Regions from separate parts of the Homo sapiens genome. Here regions 2 and 3 are each linked to region 1. The links are contacts of gene promoters, found by promoter capture Hi-C in human tissues and cell types (Jung and others, 2019). All regions are on one chromosome and are shown on one strand. The core of a region is centred on a gene start or on the middle of the fragment in contact, and the rest is flanking DNA. Distances in the headings are between cores, read along the strand shown. Region 1 holds the start of VPREB1 (V-set pre-B cell surrogate light chain 1). Region 2 has its middle 40 kb from the start of VPREB1. Region 3 holds the start of LOC105372952 (a long non-coding RNA gene).

The links. Contacts are between HindIII fragments. The study calls those that stand out against the background at their distance.
Region 2: a contact is called between a fragment that was not itself captured here and the fragment with the promoter of VPREB1 in region 1, in 5 of the 25 tissues and cell types used here (dorsolateral prefrontal cortex, mesenchymal stem cells, mesendoderm cells and 2 more).
Region 3: a fragment that was not itself captured here is called in contact with the fragment with the promoter of VPREB1 in region 1 in 1 of the 25 tissues and cell types used here (bladder).

The regions. Positions count from the first base shown.
Region 1 is chr22:22,242,955-22,247,315 of GRCh38, reverse strand. It overlaps VPREB1 (V-set pre-B cell surrogate light chain 1), which reads right to left and starts at 2,530. Exons shown (of 2, transcript NM_007128.4): 1 at 2,457-2,530; 2 at 1,801-2,370. The coding sequence starts at 2,502. The coding sequence ends at 1,979. It also overlaps IGL. The HindIII fragment of the contact is 13,267 bases long and covers 1-4,361 here.
Region 2 is chr22:22,202,493-22,207,064 of GRCh38, reverse strand. It overlaps IGL and the pseudogene LOC100419915. Among named protein-coding and RNA genes, the nearest start is that of VPREB1, 40 kb to the left of the region's middle. The HindIII fragment of the contact is 6,097 bases long and covers 1-4,572 here.
Region 3 is chr22:22,297,264-22,302,063 of GRCh38, reverse strand. LOC105372952 (a long non-coding RNA gene) reads left to right here and starts at 3,912. Exons shown (of 3, transcript XR_938055.3): 1 at 3,912-4,382. It also overlaps IGL and the pseudogene BMS1P20. RefSeq lists a silencer at 3,820-4,119. The HindIII fragment of the contact is 4,401 bases long and covers 1-3,748 here.

The DNA of each region.
Region 1 (4,361 bases), core at 1,281-3,780:
TCGCTCTGTCACCCAGGCTGGAGTGCAGTGGCATGATCTCGGCTCACTGCAACCTCTGCCTCCTGGGTTCAAGCAATTCTCCTGCCTCAGCCTCCCAAGTAGCTGGGATTACGGGCATGTGCCAACACACCCAGCTAATTTTTGTATTTTTAGTAGAGATGAGATTTCACCATGTTGGGTAGGCTGGTCTCTAACTCCTGACCTCAGGTGATCCACCCGCCTCGGCCTCCCAAAGTGCTGGAGACCACTGTTTAACAAGAGAGGGACTCATGACCACACATGGAACGCTGATACTGACATGTGTCCACCTCTCTGGGGAGATGCCTCAGGATCTTTTTAGCTGGGGTGAATGCACGTTCCCAGGCAAGTTGGGGTTACAAGGGAGATGGTTTGCCCGGCACCTCTCTGAGTGAGGCATGTCTACAGGTTGTGTGAACACCCAATGTAGAGAGTCCCTCTCCGCAAGGCACACTCAGACCCACCACCCACGGGCTCAGGGGGCCTTGCTGTGGGCCGGGGCTGCAGGGAGCTCCCCATTGCTACTTCACCCAGACAGTCCAACACAGTCTCAGTGAGACCACGTCCTTCATGCCTCTAGGTATCTCCATGGGTCCAGAGGCTTCTGCCTGGGGTCACAGGCAAGATAAGTTGAGGGGGGACTCTGATTATCCCACCAAGCATGGCTTGCTTAAAACCTGGAGACAGGAGCTGGAGTGCTCCCGAGCAGGGCTCAGCAAACTACAGCCTGGGCGCCATACCCAGCCCAGTGTAGCCCCATCTGTTTCTGTAAATACAGCTTTATAAGAACACAGCCATGCCTCTTTGTTGACATGTTTGTCTGTGGCTGCTTTCTTGCTACTAGGACAGAATTGAACAGTTGTGACAGAGATCGCATAGCCCACAAAGCCAAAAATATTTACCACCTGGCTCTTTATAGAAAATGGGCTGGGTGCAGTGGCTCACGCCTCTAATCCCAGCACTTTAGGAGGCCCAAGCAGGGGGATCACTCGAGCTCAGGAGTTTGAGATCAGCTTGAGCAACATAGTGAGACATTCATCTCTCCAAAAATAAAACTAAATAAATAGCCAAGCATGGTGATGCACGCCTGTAGTCTCAGCTGCTCAGGAGGCTGAGACAGGACAATCACTTGAGCCTGGGAGTTTGAAGCTGCGGTGAGCTATGATTGCACCACTGCACTCCAGCCTGGACCACAGAGCAAGACTTTATCCCTAAAAAAAGGAAAAAAAGAACATGTTTGCCGACACCTGCCACTCTCTTGTACAAATAAGTAAATGCATTTACTTGCTCATCTAGACCAGTGGTTCACAATCAGTGTGAGTTTACCACCTGGGGACATTTGGCAATGTCTGGAGACATTTTTGTTTGTCACAACTGGGAAGGGGCATCTGGTGGGTAGAGGCCACAGATAACCACTCACCATTCAACAATCCGCAGGACAGCCCCACAACCAAGAACTGTCCAGCCCAAAACGTCGATAGGACCAAGGTGGAGAACCCACTCTAGGCCTATTACCTGGCTCCTGTTCTCCCTGGAGGCCCAGACCAGGTGCTTTCTAAGCTTGTTTGCCCTGTAACCGCTGGGCAGAATCAGATGACACCAGAGGGTCCTGTCCTGGGCATGGATGCCCCTCCAGGGTGCTTCGGTCAACCCCTTGCCTCCCATGGCCCACAAAAGTAAGGACTCAGGTGAGTGCTCACCACAGTGATCTGCCAGTCTCCCGGGGCCCCGGGCCTTTGCCCAAGGCTGGTACTACGAAGTCGCACAACAGTCAGACCAAACTCAGCAAAAAGTGACAAGCAGCTTTAATTCCCTAATGCAGTCTCCAATGGGGATTTACAGCAACACTGCAGGACCAGGAGATGCTGAGTGGCTCAGCCTCCTCGGCGCTTCGGGCGGCGACTCCACCCTCTTCCATGACAGTCTCTCCAAGGGGATGCGTGCCTCTGCTGTCTTCAGTTCAAGGGACACGTGTCCTGGCTGCAGTGGGTTCCATTTCTTCCTCCCACTCCCTCTCCCTCTCCTCCTTCTCCGAGCTGCGGGCCCCCATAGCACAGTAATACATAGCCTCGTCCTCAGGCTGCAGCTCAGAGATGCTCAAATACCCCCTGTTCCTGGCCACATCTTTGGATCCAGAGAAGCGAGGGGGGACCTGGGGGCCCTGGCTCTTGTCTGATTGTGAGAAATATCTCAGCAGGAACCTGGGAGGGTGGCCCGGCCTCTGCTGGTACCAGTAGACGCTGTACACACCGATGTCATGGTCGTTCCTCAGGGTGCAGGTGAGGCGGATTGTGGTTCCAAGGGCCGAGGACATGGCCGGCGGCTGATGCAGCACCGGCTGAGGACCACAACCTGGTGACACAGATGCATGTGGGCCGTGGGGGCAGGGCAGGATGAAGGAAGGGGCAGGAGTCTTTGGGATCTGGGGGTTCCCTCACCTGTGCAGTAGACAAACAGCATGAGCAGGACAGGAGCCCAGGACATGGTGCAGACATGCAGAGCTCTGACTCCTGTGGCCACGGTGCCTGGGGTCCCCAAGGGCTGGCCCAGCATCCTCCTCCCTGCTCTGAGAGGTGGGGCCGTGGCACACCCCGTTCCTGGCCACTACCATCCCAGACTTTCTTGGGTCTGCAACGTCGGTTACCGGAACAGCGTCGGGGCAGCATTTGTGGCTCTGATCTTGCCATATGGAAGCATTCAGGGAGGAAGCACCTGCTGGAGACTCTGGGGCCAGTGCCCTGGAGGCCTTTGGGTTAAGGTACCTCAGGGGTCGTGACCTCAACTTCCCCCTGAGGAAACCGCACCCCAGATAAATAAATTTTCTGTCTACATTTAAATGCTTGGTGAGCCAGGAAGGGAGGACACATCCTCGGGGGGTGAAAACACCTGCTTTGTACAGCAGAAGACACTGGGGGCCCAGAGCGGGTTGGGATGTTCTGCCCCTTCCATGTTGCAGCACTGCCTTCGGCCCATGCTCCTCTCCCTACTAGAACCAAGTAGAGTGACTCAGGCATGGGAAAGAAGCACCAGGGCCTGGTGCCTTCCCCACCCCTGTTCTGGCTCACCGAGCAGGTGCAGCTTGGCACTGTGATAGACTGAATTGCATCCCCCAAATCCATAGGTTGAAGCCCTAACCCCCAGTGTGCCTGTATTTGGAGATAGGGCCTTTAAGGAGTTAATGAAGGTTAGATGAGGTCATAGAGGTGGGGCCCCGGTCAGTACAACTGGTGTCCTTATAAAAAGGGGAAATTTGGGAGCCGGATGCAGTGTCTCACACCTATAATCCCAGCACTTTGGGAGGCCAAGGTGGGAGGATCACTTGAGCTCAGGAGTTCGAGTCTAGCCTGAGCAACATGGCAAAACCCCATCTCTACAAAAAAAATTTAAAAATTAGCTGGTCATGGCGGACAGGCACCTGCAGTCCCAACTACTTGGGAGGCTGAGGTGGGAAAATCACTTGAGCTTGGGAGGTTGAGTTGAGGCTGCAGCAAGCCAAGATCTCACCACTGCCCTCCAGCCTGGCCAACAGAGGGAGACCCTGCCTCAAAAAAAAAATGAGAATAAAAATAATACATTAAATGTATGTTTGCATACTACCTGCAAGATTTAAAAAAAAATTAAGGGGAAATTTGGACTTAAAGTCTCTGATCCCACATGCTCACCCTCCCTCAAAAAGCTGGAGTGTCTCCTCCCCTGGAACCTGTGCAGGCCTGTGATCAAGGCTGAAGTGTCCCTGGGTGCACGAGGTGGCACTGAGCAGCTGGGTGTGCACTGGGACTGTTTACTTGCAAACACTTTGATAGAGCAACCACCCCTGAGGCTCAGATGAGCCCCTGCTCGGTGTCAAGCTGCCCCACATCCATTCTCTGCCTGGTGAGGTGCAGGCTGCACCAGTTTCAGCCCGCAGGGTCGACTCTGGGAGCCCCACCCTTCTTCCCACTGCCTCTCTGGCCAACAGCTCCACTGCCCAGGTGAGGGCTGGGGAGGGCCTCTGCAGACACAGGATGTCTTGACCACTCTGTCCAGTAACAGCTGCAACCACATCTATGACCTGTTGCTCCTCCCTCCTCTGCACAGGCTGGTGGGCAGTGGGGAACTAACCAGTGACTGCTGACTCCTGGAGAGGAGAAAGGAAGCTTTTTTCACTCATTCATTCATTTATTCCCTCATCCAGTAGCTCATTCATGTGTTGTGCACGTATTTGTGAAAGAGAAATATACCTCCCAGACCCCTCCGAGAGCACCAGTCCTTGGGAATCAGGGCAGGAGAAGGTTCCACCTGTGGGCACCAGCACTACTGCAGTCCCTGAACTAGCCCTACCACTGACACTGTCAGAGCTTTTT
Region 2 (4,572 bases), core at 1,719-4,218, 41 kb after region 1:
TCCTTACTGCGGAGGGGCTGCCCTGCACCTGGGAACAGAGCAGCTCTTCCAGAGGCAATCTCAAAAGAAAGAGAAACCTAACTTCTCTGTGGGTTCAGAGCCCAAAGGGTGATCAGCAAAGCCAGGGCCAGATGTAGGGACATGTGAAGCCCATGAGGGCCATACCTGCCAAACTTCTGCTGCTCTTCTCATCCCAGCAGACAACAACGAGGGCTATCTTTGTTACTGTGGACATAGTGATTATGTTTTCATTGGGAGACCAGTAAGAAAAGGTGTCTTTTCATTGAATCCGTAAAGATAAACAGAAAATACCATTAAGCCCTCTGGTTTTAGGAGCACGTGTGATAGCATCAGCAAAAACCTGAGCTGGTCTTGGTAGTATTCACTCAAGCAGGCAGAAAAAGGGCAAAGATGGATCTGACAGAAGAGTTGGAAGGCCAATTTCTATCTAATTTTCTCATATGACAGTGACTGTTGGTGGTGACTGAGGCTGCTGTGCTGCCCCTGAATAAATGTCACCATCATCCTCATGCACTGACTGGAACCCAGAGAAAGTCAGGGAGGCTGAACTGCCGACTGGAAGAAGGGACCTGACCTGTGATTGCCCAGCATTAAACTTTTCCACCAGCAGGTGTCCAGAGCATTTCCTGGCTGAACCTGATAGCAGGATCCCTTACCCTCCATGCCACTGGTGGTTCCTGTGACTTCATCGAGATTCAACCTGAGGGTGGCTGGATCACCACAGGCTAAGCCCTGACTTCTAGCTGGAGACATAGAGAATCCTGGAAACTGAAGATGTCCAGAATAATGTGTACCCAGAGAGAAGAGAGGGGTGTGTGTGTGCGTGTGTGTGTGTGTGTGTGTGTGTGTGTGTGTGTGAAAGAGAGAGAGAGAGAGAGAGAACATGTGTCTTCCAGGACCCATTCCTGCCTAGGCAGAGCCTAAAGTGAGTGGCAGCCTGCCTCACGGCCAAAATGTGATCTTGAAATAGCAATTATTAAAAATGCTCAGGCAGCATCCTTTCAATAAGTACCTAAGCCTAAACTGGGGAGTACTGCATTGACACATTCATAGGCTGATCAGTGAAGGGAGAAACCACCTAAATGAGGATATTAACGTGGCATTTCTATGTCTTTCCTCATTGAATTAAACGCAAGTACAGGTTCTATGATCACTGAGCTGAGAATCTTTTCAAAGGAGAATATTCTTTCCAGTAGATTTAATATTATCACAAAATTAAAACAAACCAATTTCATTATTCTCACATTCTAAGACTCTGGTATATTTAAACGTTAAATTAAGAGCATGTTTTGAAAACCTCTCAATAGGGGCAGGAACACCTATATTTAAGACTCCTCTACCTTTACTTTAAAGAAACACATCACTTTCCATTTGGAGGGGAATGTCAGAATTCTATCAGCCACATAGATCTTTTTATAAAGTATGATTTTACATTTTATTTATTCATTCAATCAACTGGGAATTGCTGTATTGTACAAATACAATGTTGTACAAAAATCACAGAATGTTACAAAATAAAAAGTACAAACTGCATTACTTAATAAATGTGACTACAATTAGGCAAAGTGGCAATATGATAGATTTTAGGTGGGAAACATTAACACAACAAACCATACAATCTCTGCAGACATTTGTACATTATAAAATAGGATGATCCTATTTTGCCTTTTAAAAGAATTTAAAAGGAGTATTAAGACGGTATCTTCTGCTATGAAATAACTGCCGAGGTTGGCTCCAGGCATTTATGCCATTAGCTTTTAAAACTCTTAGGGGACTCCAACATGCTATATTGCAGTAGGTTTAGCTTGTCACAGAGTCTTATACCATGTTAAGATTACCTTAAAACAAAATCACAAACATAAATAAAAACAATTGAGATCACCCAACATTCTGCTCTAACATCAATCTAGTGCAGATTAGTCACTCTGCCATCAGCAAGCATCAGACTTTCATTCAAGTAAGACCTGGTACAATCCGTTAAAGAAGAAGAAAAAAAAAAACTTCCCACAATCCTTTGTTAAGTATTTCTCTCTAAAAGATTGACCATTTCTAAACAAATAATGGTTCCAAAACAACAAATCTATTTGTATCAAAATGTAATGGGCCAATCATTTGGTAACAAGAATGCATCAATATAAGTTTCTAAGAATTGTAAAATTCAAATTTCAACAGCGTAACTACCAAATCACAAACTCTGTTCAAAATAATAAATTTTATATAAAACACTTCTCTTAATTTCTGCCTGAAAGCTGCTTGTCAAAAGTAATGTACTGTCATAGATGAAGGTACACCATTTTTTAATGTTGTGTAAAAATACACTTTTGTAGAAAATAGACTACCAGGAATGAACAGATTTACACTGTGAGAAATTAGCTTTCAAATTAAGCAGTGCTCACTTAAACAGAAAATTACAGATGCAGTAAAATCACCCAAAACTATCATGCAACATCATTTAGGCGCCCAGCAACTTTTAGTTCCGAGAAAACATTTTAAAAGATGATTATGGCGTTACACTCACAGAAAAGCTATTAGGAAGTGCCAGCTGCGGTGGCTCACGCCTGTAATCCCAGCGCTGTAGGAGGCCGAGGCGGGTGGATCACGAGGTCAGGAGATTGAGACCATCCTGGCTAACACCGTGAAACCCCGTCTCTACTAAAAATACAAAAAATTAGCCGGGCGTGGTGGTGGGCACCCGTGGTCCCAGCTACTCGGGAGGCTGAGGCAGGGGAATGGCGTGAACCCAGGAGGCGGAGCTTGCAGTGAGCCGAGGTCGCGCCACTGCACTCCAGCCTGGGCAACACTGCGAAACTCCATCTCAAAAAAAAAAAAAAAAAAAAAAAGGAAAGAAAAGCTGTTAGGAACTTTACAAGTGTTATTACCCTGATTAGAGTTCATGTCATTCTCCAAGCACAAGTTCTGTATGCAATTTTCCCAGGGTGTAAGGTTTTCAGACATTTCAAGGGTAGGCATTTTATTCAGAATATGTGGCCCCAGAGTGAGCAAGTTATTCATTGCGTTGCCTTTTGCTTTTGAGTCTGTTTGCACCAGTTGTCGTACTTGGTTAGGATAGGAGTGATCAAATACTGCATCCTAGTGCCCGTTACTGAGCCAACTGAGCCAAATACTAGGCTTTAGGCAATCCTCTGGGCCCAAATAATGAATCATGGTAGATAGACACTGTGGGCCTCTCCAGCCTCCCTCTAGTAGTTCAGTGCTATTCACATTCAGCATCTACCCTATGTACACAGGGTACCCAGCCACGCCCCGTTTTGGGCAGCCGCGATAATAAGCTTCCCCGTGTCACCCTCACCCAGGGAGCTAAAGTGGTGGAGACGATCGGGATGGGGCGCACCCTCCGCTCCGCAGCTCCTGGTGCAGGCTCGGGTCTAGCACTGGGTCTTGCTGACAGCACCGTAGAGGCCGTTGCCATGGGGAATGATGTGGAATCGGTGCTGATTCTTCTGCGTAAGCCCATGTCCTGCTTCTCGCCTGGGCCAGGTGCAAGGCTAGCTTCTCCTGTGATCCGACCTGGAGAGAACCACCTTGCTGGCGCCGCTCTGGGCAGCCTCGCTGCTGCTGGTCTGGTCGGGGAACCTCAGCCTCTGGGTGGGGCCTTAGTGCAGCGTCTTCACCTGCATCTTCGCCGTGTCTTCTCTCTCTCCCAGCCCCGCAGGCTCATCTCCGCCATGTGCTCTTCTCCTGGTGGACCCTGGCGAGGATCCGGGCTCCCCGGGGGTGATGCAGCCTCCATCCTGGGTGGCGGCCTGGGTTTGGCGCTGCTTGCTCAGGGGGAAGTTTCTATCAGGCCCCTCCCGAGCTGCCGCTAAGCCGCGGGCTCCATGCAGGGTAGTCGGGCGCAGCAGCTCCTCCAGGAGCCAGGTGGAGGAGCCCTGCCAAGGCAGGCGGGACTGGGCCATGCACCAGGAGCCTTGCAGCTCCCAGACCCATGCAGAGATCCACATGGATCATCTCTGTCAAGTTAAAGAGATAAAACAAAACTAAACTAACAAAACCAAAAAAAAAAAAAAAAAAAAAAGAGGTCGGGCACGGTGGTTCACGCCTGTAATCCCAGCACTTTGGGAGGCCGAGGACGGCGGATCCCGAAGTCAGGAGTTCCAGACCAGCCTGACCAACATGGTGAAACCCCGTCTCTACTAAAAAATACAAAAAATTTAGCCAGGCATGGTGGCGCACGCCTGTATCCCAGCTACTCAGGAGGCTGAGGCAGGAGAATCGTTTGAACCAGGGAGGCTTAGGTTGCAGTGAGCCCAGCTCACTGCACTGCACTCCAGCCTCGCTGACAGCAAGACTCTGCCTCAAAAAAAAAAAGGAAAGAAAAGCAATCTTAAAAATAAAACAATAACAAACAGTGAGAGTCATCCTGCAGAGCTGCCAGGGCTGTTCACCTATTCAACCCATGGTAACCATTTATTCTAGAGGCAGGGCAGAATTGCTGGCTACTGGTGGGAAGACGGTAATGTCTGCTGACATTTTATTTCATATATTATACATATACATGATACATAATTTTATATATACATGATACATAAT
Region 3 (4,800 bases), core at 299-2,798, 56 kb before region 1:
ATAAAAGCAAAAAAGGATAAAATAGGAATAAACCTAACAAGAAGTGCACCGGAACTTTATTTTTTTAAAAAAGAAGAAAAGCTTTAATAGGCTACCAAAGGACAAAAGGAATAGCATCACTACCAACACTCGTAAGTGCTCTCCACACCAGGCACTGTGTTAAGTACTTTCCTTGCCTTAACCACATTCTTCAACCCAAGGAAGTAGGTGTTGTAAATATTATATACTGAATAATGATATGTCCTCATTTGAAAAGAAAGACCCGACATCACAAATACGCCAATTCTCCCTTTAGCACAGTTACAACCCGAAACCACCACTAAGGATTTCTGGTCTAGAGAAGATAACACATTATACCCTCCTAAGAAATGTAACCCAAACTCTAGAAATAATAGACAGGAGAGGATCAATGGAGAATTCCAAAAGGTGGACAGAAAAAGGCTGCTGAGGGACTCTAGGACTAGGGAATGCATAGTGGCCAGGTGTCTCCCTGGACCTCATCCAATAGGAAGGTGACCCAGGCCCAGAGTTTCCCAACTCCCAACGTAGCAATAGAAGGCAACCCAGGCAGACTCAGTCCCCGCAGATCAAAGGAGATCTTCCCCACAACAAGAAAACCAGCTCCACACACCAAGACAACCACCATTCCCCACCCACCTAGCTGCAGCAGGTGGCCCAGCCTAGGGCGGCTCCCCTGTTCCCTCAGGTGGGCAACAACAGGGACTGGTGGGAGAATCCCAGTGATACATATAAGCCAAAGAGACCAAAATAACACCATGAAGGCTCTGAAATTAAATTGCCATTGGAATCACAGCCCACAAAGTAGACCAAGACCTACAGACTAAACCTAAACAGGAGGACTGCCTGCAAAAATAAAAAAATTACATAGGCAGATGTTGGAACCATCTGACTCATCACTTATAACAGTCAGTATAAAAATGCTTCAACAAGCAACTACAAATCCTATGGCAACAATCAAAGAACTGAAAACATCAGCAAAGAAACTGAAGAATCAAATGGAAATTACAGAAATATAAAATCCAGTAACAGAAATTTTAAAAAAACTAACTGGATGGGCCCTATTGAGTAAAAGTGGAGACGACAGAGGAGAGAATCAGAGAAGCTGAAACCTGATCAACAGAATTCACCCAGTCTAAACAAGAGAGAGAAAATAACCTGAAAACAAATGAACAGAGCTGCACGGACCTGTGGGACGATAACCCCGCATTTATGTTATCTGAGTCCCATAGGAGACCAGAGCTGTGAAAGCATGCAAATAACTAATTCCTGAGGCTTCCCACATTTGGTGAAAGATATAAACTTACAGATTCAAGAAGCTGAGCAAACCTCAAAGTATACCAAAAGAAAGCAACACCAATTAAACTTTCAAAACTAAAAACAAAGACCAAAAATGGCAGAATGCCTGTAGGGACACGCCAACTCAAATGCCATGGAGGCCAGAAGGAAGTGGCACAACATTTTCAAGTGTTTAAAAAAAAAACAACCAAACAAAAAAACCAACCAAACAAAAAAACTGTTCGCTGCAAATTCTATATCCCATGAAACTACCCTTCAGAAATGAAGAGAGAAATAAAGACATTCTCAGAGGAAGAGAATATAGGAATTTGTCACTGGTCAATTTAGAAATGCTAAAAAGTGGCTACAGAAATATGTTCTGTCATTTCCACAATACAAAAAATTAAAACAAAAAAATCAAAACAAAAAAATGGCTACAGAAAGTTCTTATGCAGAAGGGATGAATATGGGACTATAGGAGGAGGGACAAAGGAAAGACCAGAAATGTGGATACATACGCGAGACAATCCACAGTTCTTAAAATCACATTTGACGACTGAAACAAAAACTATACCACCACCTAATACTCAAGCCAGTGATTTATACAAGTGGAAAAGGTAAAGAGACATAAATGCAAGGCAGGTTTCCACACTTTGAAGTGGTAAATACTGGTACCAGTAGACTACTGTATTACAATACACATATTGTAACATCCAGAGCAAACACTTTAAGACTATACAAAGAGATACGAGCAACAACATTATACAGAAATAGATCAAGATGGAGGGAAAGAAAAAGGAAACGAAAAAGCAAATAATAAAAACATCAGACATAAGCAATTATGTAACTATAAGCACCTTAAATGTAAATGGTCTAAATAAACCAAAAGACAGATTGATGGAGAGCCTATAATAAACACATGGCCCAACTAAATACTGTTCATAAGAAACTTCAAACTCACTTAAGGACCTAAGTAGGTTGAAAGTAAAAGAATGGAGAAAGATATCCTGTGAAATCATTAATTTTTTAAGGAAGCAGGAGTGAATATATTAATATCTCATGAAGTAGACTTCAAGCAAAATAATTTACCAGAGCTGGAGAGGGTCTTCGCTGAATTTTAAGATCTAAAATTTCCTATGCTGCCTTGACATCTTTGAGCCTCACAGGGCCCCAAAGGCCTAGCCGTGGGTTTTCCTGTTTCTACCAGACACCCCCTACCCTGCCACCCAACAGGAAAGGCTCCCCACCTGGCTAGTTCTTTTATCAGCCAAACAGTTGCACCTCAGCCTAAGAAGCTTCACTTCACCTGTCTGCCAGCCCATGAATTTATTCAAACAAGCCAACTGCATTCCCCCTCGGGAACCATTGGTCATTGTGTGCTCTTGTTACTATCAAGCCTGCCTGCTTCCTCAGCCCACAGCCCTCACTCCGCTACAGAGTGCGGTGCCCATCTGACCCTGTGTGGCATGCAGTGTCCTCCTCTGAGCTGTGGGTATATGTGACTAAAACACTGCTGTCAATCTCATCCATCCACGCCAGGTGTCGTGTTCAGCCATCTCCTACACTTTAGGGCAGGGACCCCTCCTTCACCAATGGGGTGAAAAGGAAGTGACCATAACAACTGCTTAATGACAAAAGGATTAACCCACCAAGAAGACATCTACTTCAACATCCTCCTCTTAGCAACTGTTAAAACTAGGCAGAGGCCGGGCACAGTGGCTCATGCCTGTAATCCCAGAACTCTGGGAGGCAAAGACAAAGGATAGCTCGAGGCCAGGAGTTCGAGCCTGGGCAACATAGCAAGGCCTCATCTCTCCAAAAAATTTTAAATTTAGCCAGGTGTGGCGGCACACACCTATAGTACCAGCTACTCAGGAGGTTAAGCCAGGGGAAGTACTTGACCCTAGGAAGTCAAGGCTGCAGTGAGTCATGTTCGTGCCACCGCACTCTAATGTAAGTGACAGAGTGAAACTAGGCAGAAAAGGAGCAAGGATTTACAAAAGATCTGAACAGTCAACCAGCAAAATCTGACATCCGTATAACACCCCACTCCCCAACAGCAAAACACACACATTTTTAAAGCCAATAGAAATCTACCAAGATGAAGTACATTTGGGGCAATAAAAGAAATCACAGCCGTGCCCCTCTCTGCGCTTTCTTTTCTCACCATGGGGAGGCGTTTGGGGGCCTCTTGAGGGACCCCCTAGATGCTTCTACTCAGAGCCCCCAAAGCCGGGGAGCCTCCACTCCTCTGTATGCAGCCTCCCCTGTCGGTTCTCGCTACCCAGGGTTCAGTGGCCTGGGGGCTGACGGAGGGGGTCGCCTCTGCCAAGGCCCCTCCCGGCGCCTCCCTAGCTCATCCAGCCCACCTTCCTCCCACGCTGGCTCACGCAAAGTGCTCTGGTTACCAGGAGCCCTTCCTGACCAGCCCCGGCCCCTTCTTGGCCTTCGCCCACCTGGCCTCCCCTGGAGCCCTGACCTGGGTGCCGGGCCTGCTGGGTCCAGAGCCCACCCCGCCCTGAACAACCCCGAGTCTCAGCCACCCTCAGTTCTTACCCTTTCACAGCTGGGGAGTGGAGTCTGGGCCGGCGCCTCGCTGTGCCGCGCTGTGCGCCTCTCCGCGCCTGCGCCGCCGCTGTGCCCCTCTCCGCGCCTGCGCCGCCGCTGTGCGCCTCTCCGCGCCTGCGCCGCCGCTGTGCGCCTCTCCGCCGCTGTCCGCCTCTCCGCCGCGCCGCCGCTGTCCGCCTCTCCGCCGCTGTCCGCCTCTCCGCCGCTGTCCGCCTCTCCGCCACGCCGGCGCTGTGTGCCTTTGCGAGGGCGGAGCTGAGTTCTCCTTTGCACAGACTTCGGAGATACAGCGAAGGCAGAGCAATGTTCTCCTCAGCACAGACCCGGGCGGGCGGGCCGGTGGCACCGCGAGGGCGGAGCTGCGTTCTGCTCTGCACAGACCTTGGGGGCACTGCCTCGCTTTGGGACACCTCGGGGCCGCATCGACGGTGAATAAAATCCTTCCTGTTTGCAGCCCTGTTTGTGGTTGGTGGCAGCGATGGACACTGCAGCCAGCCAGAGCGTAGAAAGGCGTTGGGGTAAGCGCGCTATCCAGGCTGCACTGCGGGTGGCCTGGGACCGGTTGGGAGCCCTATCTCAGGCGTCACTGCCCGTCTTGGGTGGCTGGTTGGGTGTGCTATCTGGGGCTGTGCTGCCTGCACGGGGGGATGGTTTGGGAGCCCAAACCGGGGCTGCACTGCCTTTGGCGGGGAGCCGGTTGGGGGCACTATCCCAGACTGTATTGCTGGCAACAGTGAGGTGGGCTAAGTGTGCTATCCGGGGCTGCACTGTGCGGCTGTGGGCGGTGGGGGGGTGGGTGGCGGTTTCGGGTTGAGGGCGCTATGGGGTGCTGTAATGCCCATGGTGCGGGGAGGCGGGGCGGCTTGGGTATGTTGGGTGTGCTGTTGCGGGGGGGCGACACTGCTGGTGGTAGGGGGCAGGGTGGGTTGGGGGCCA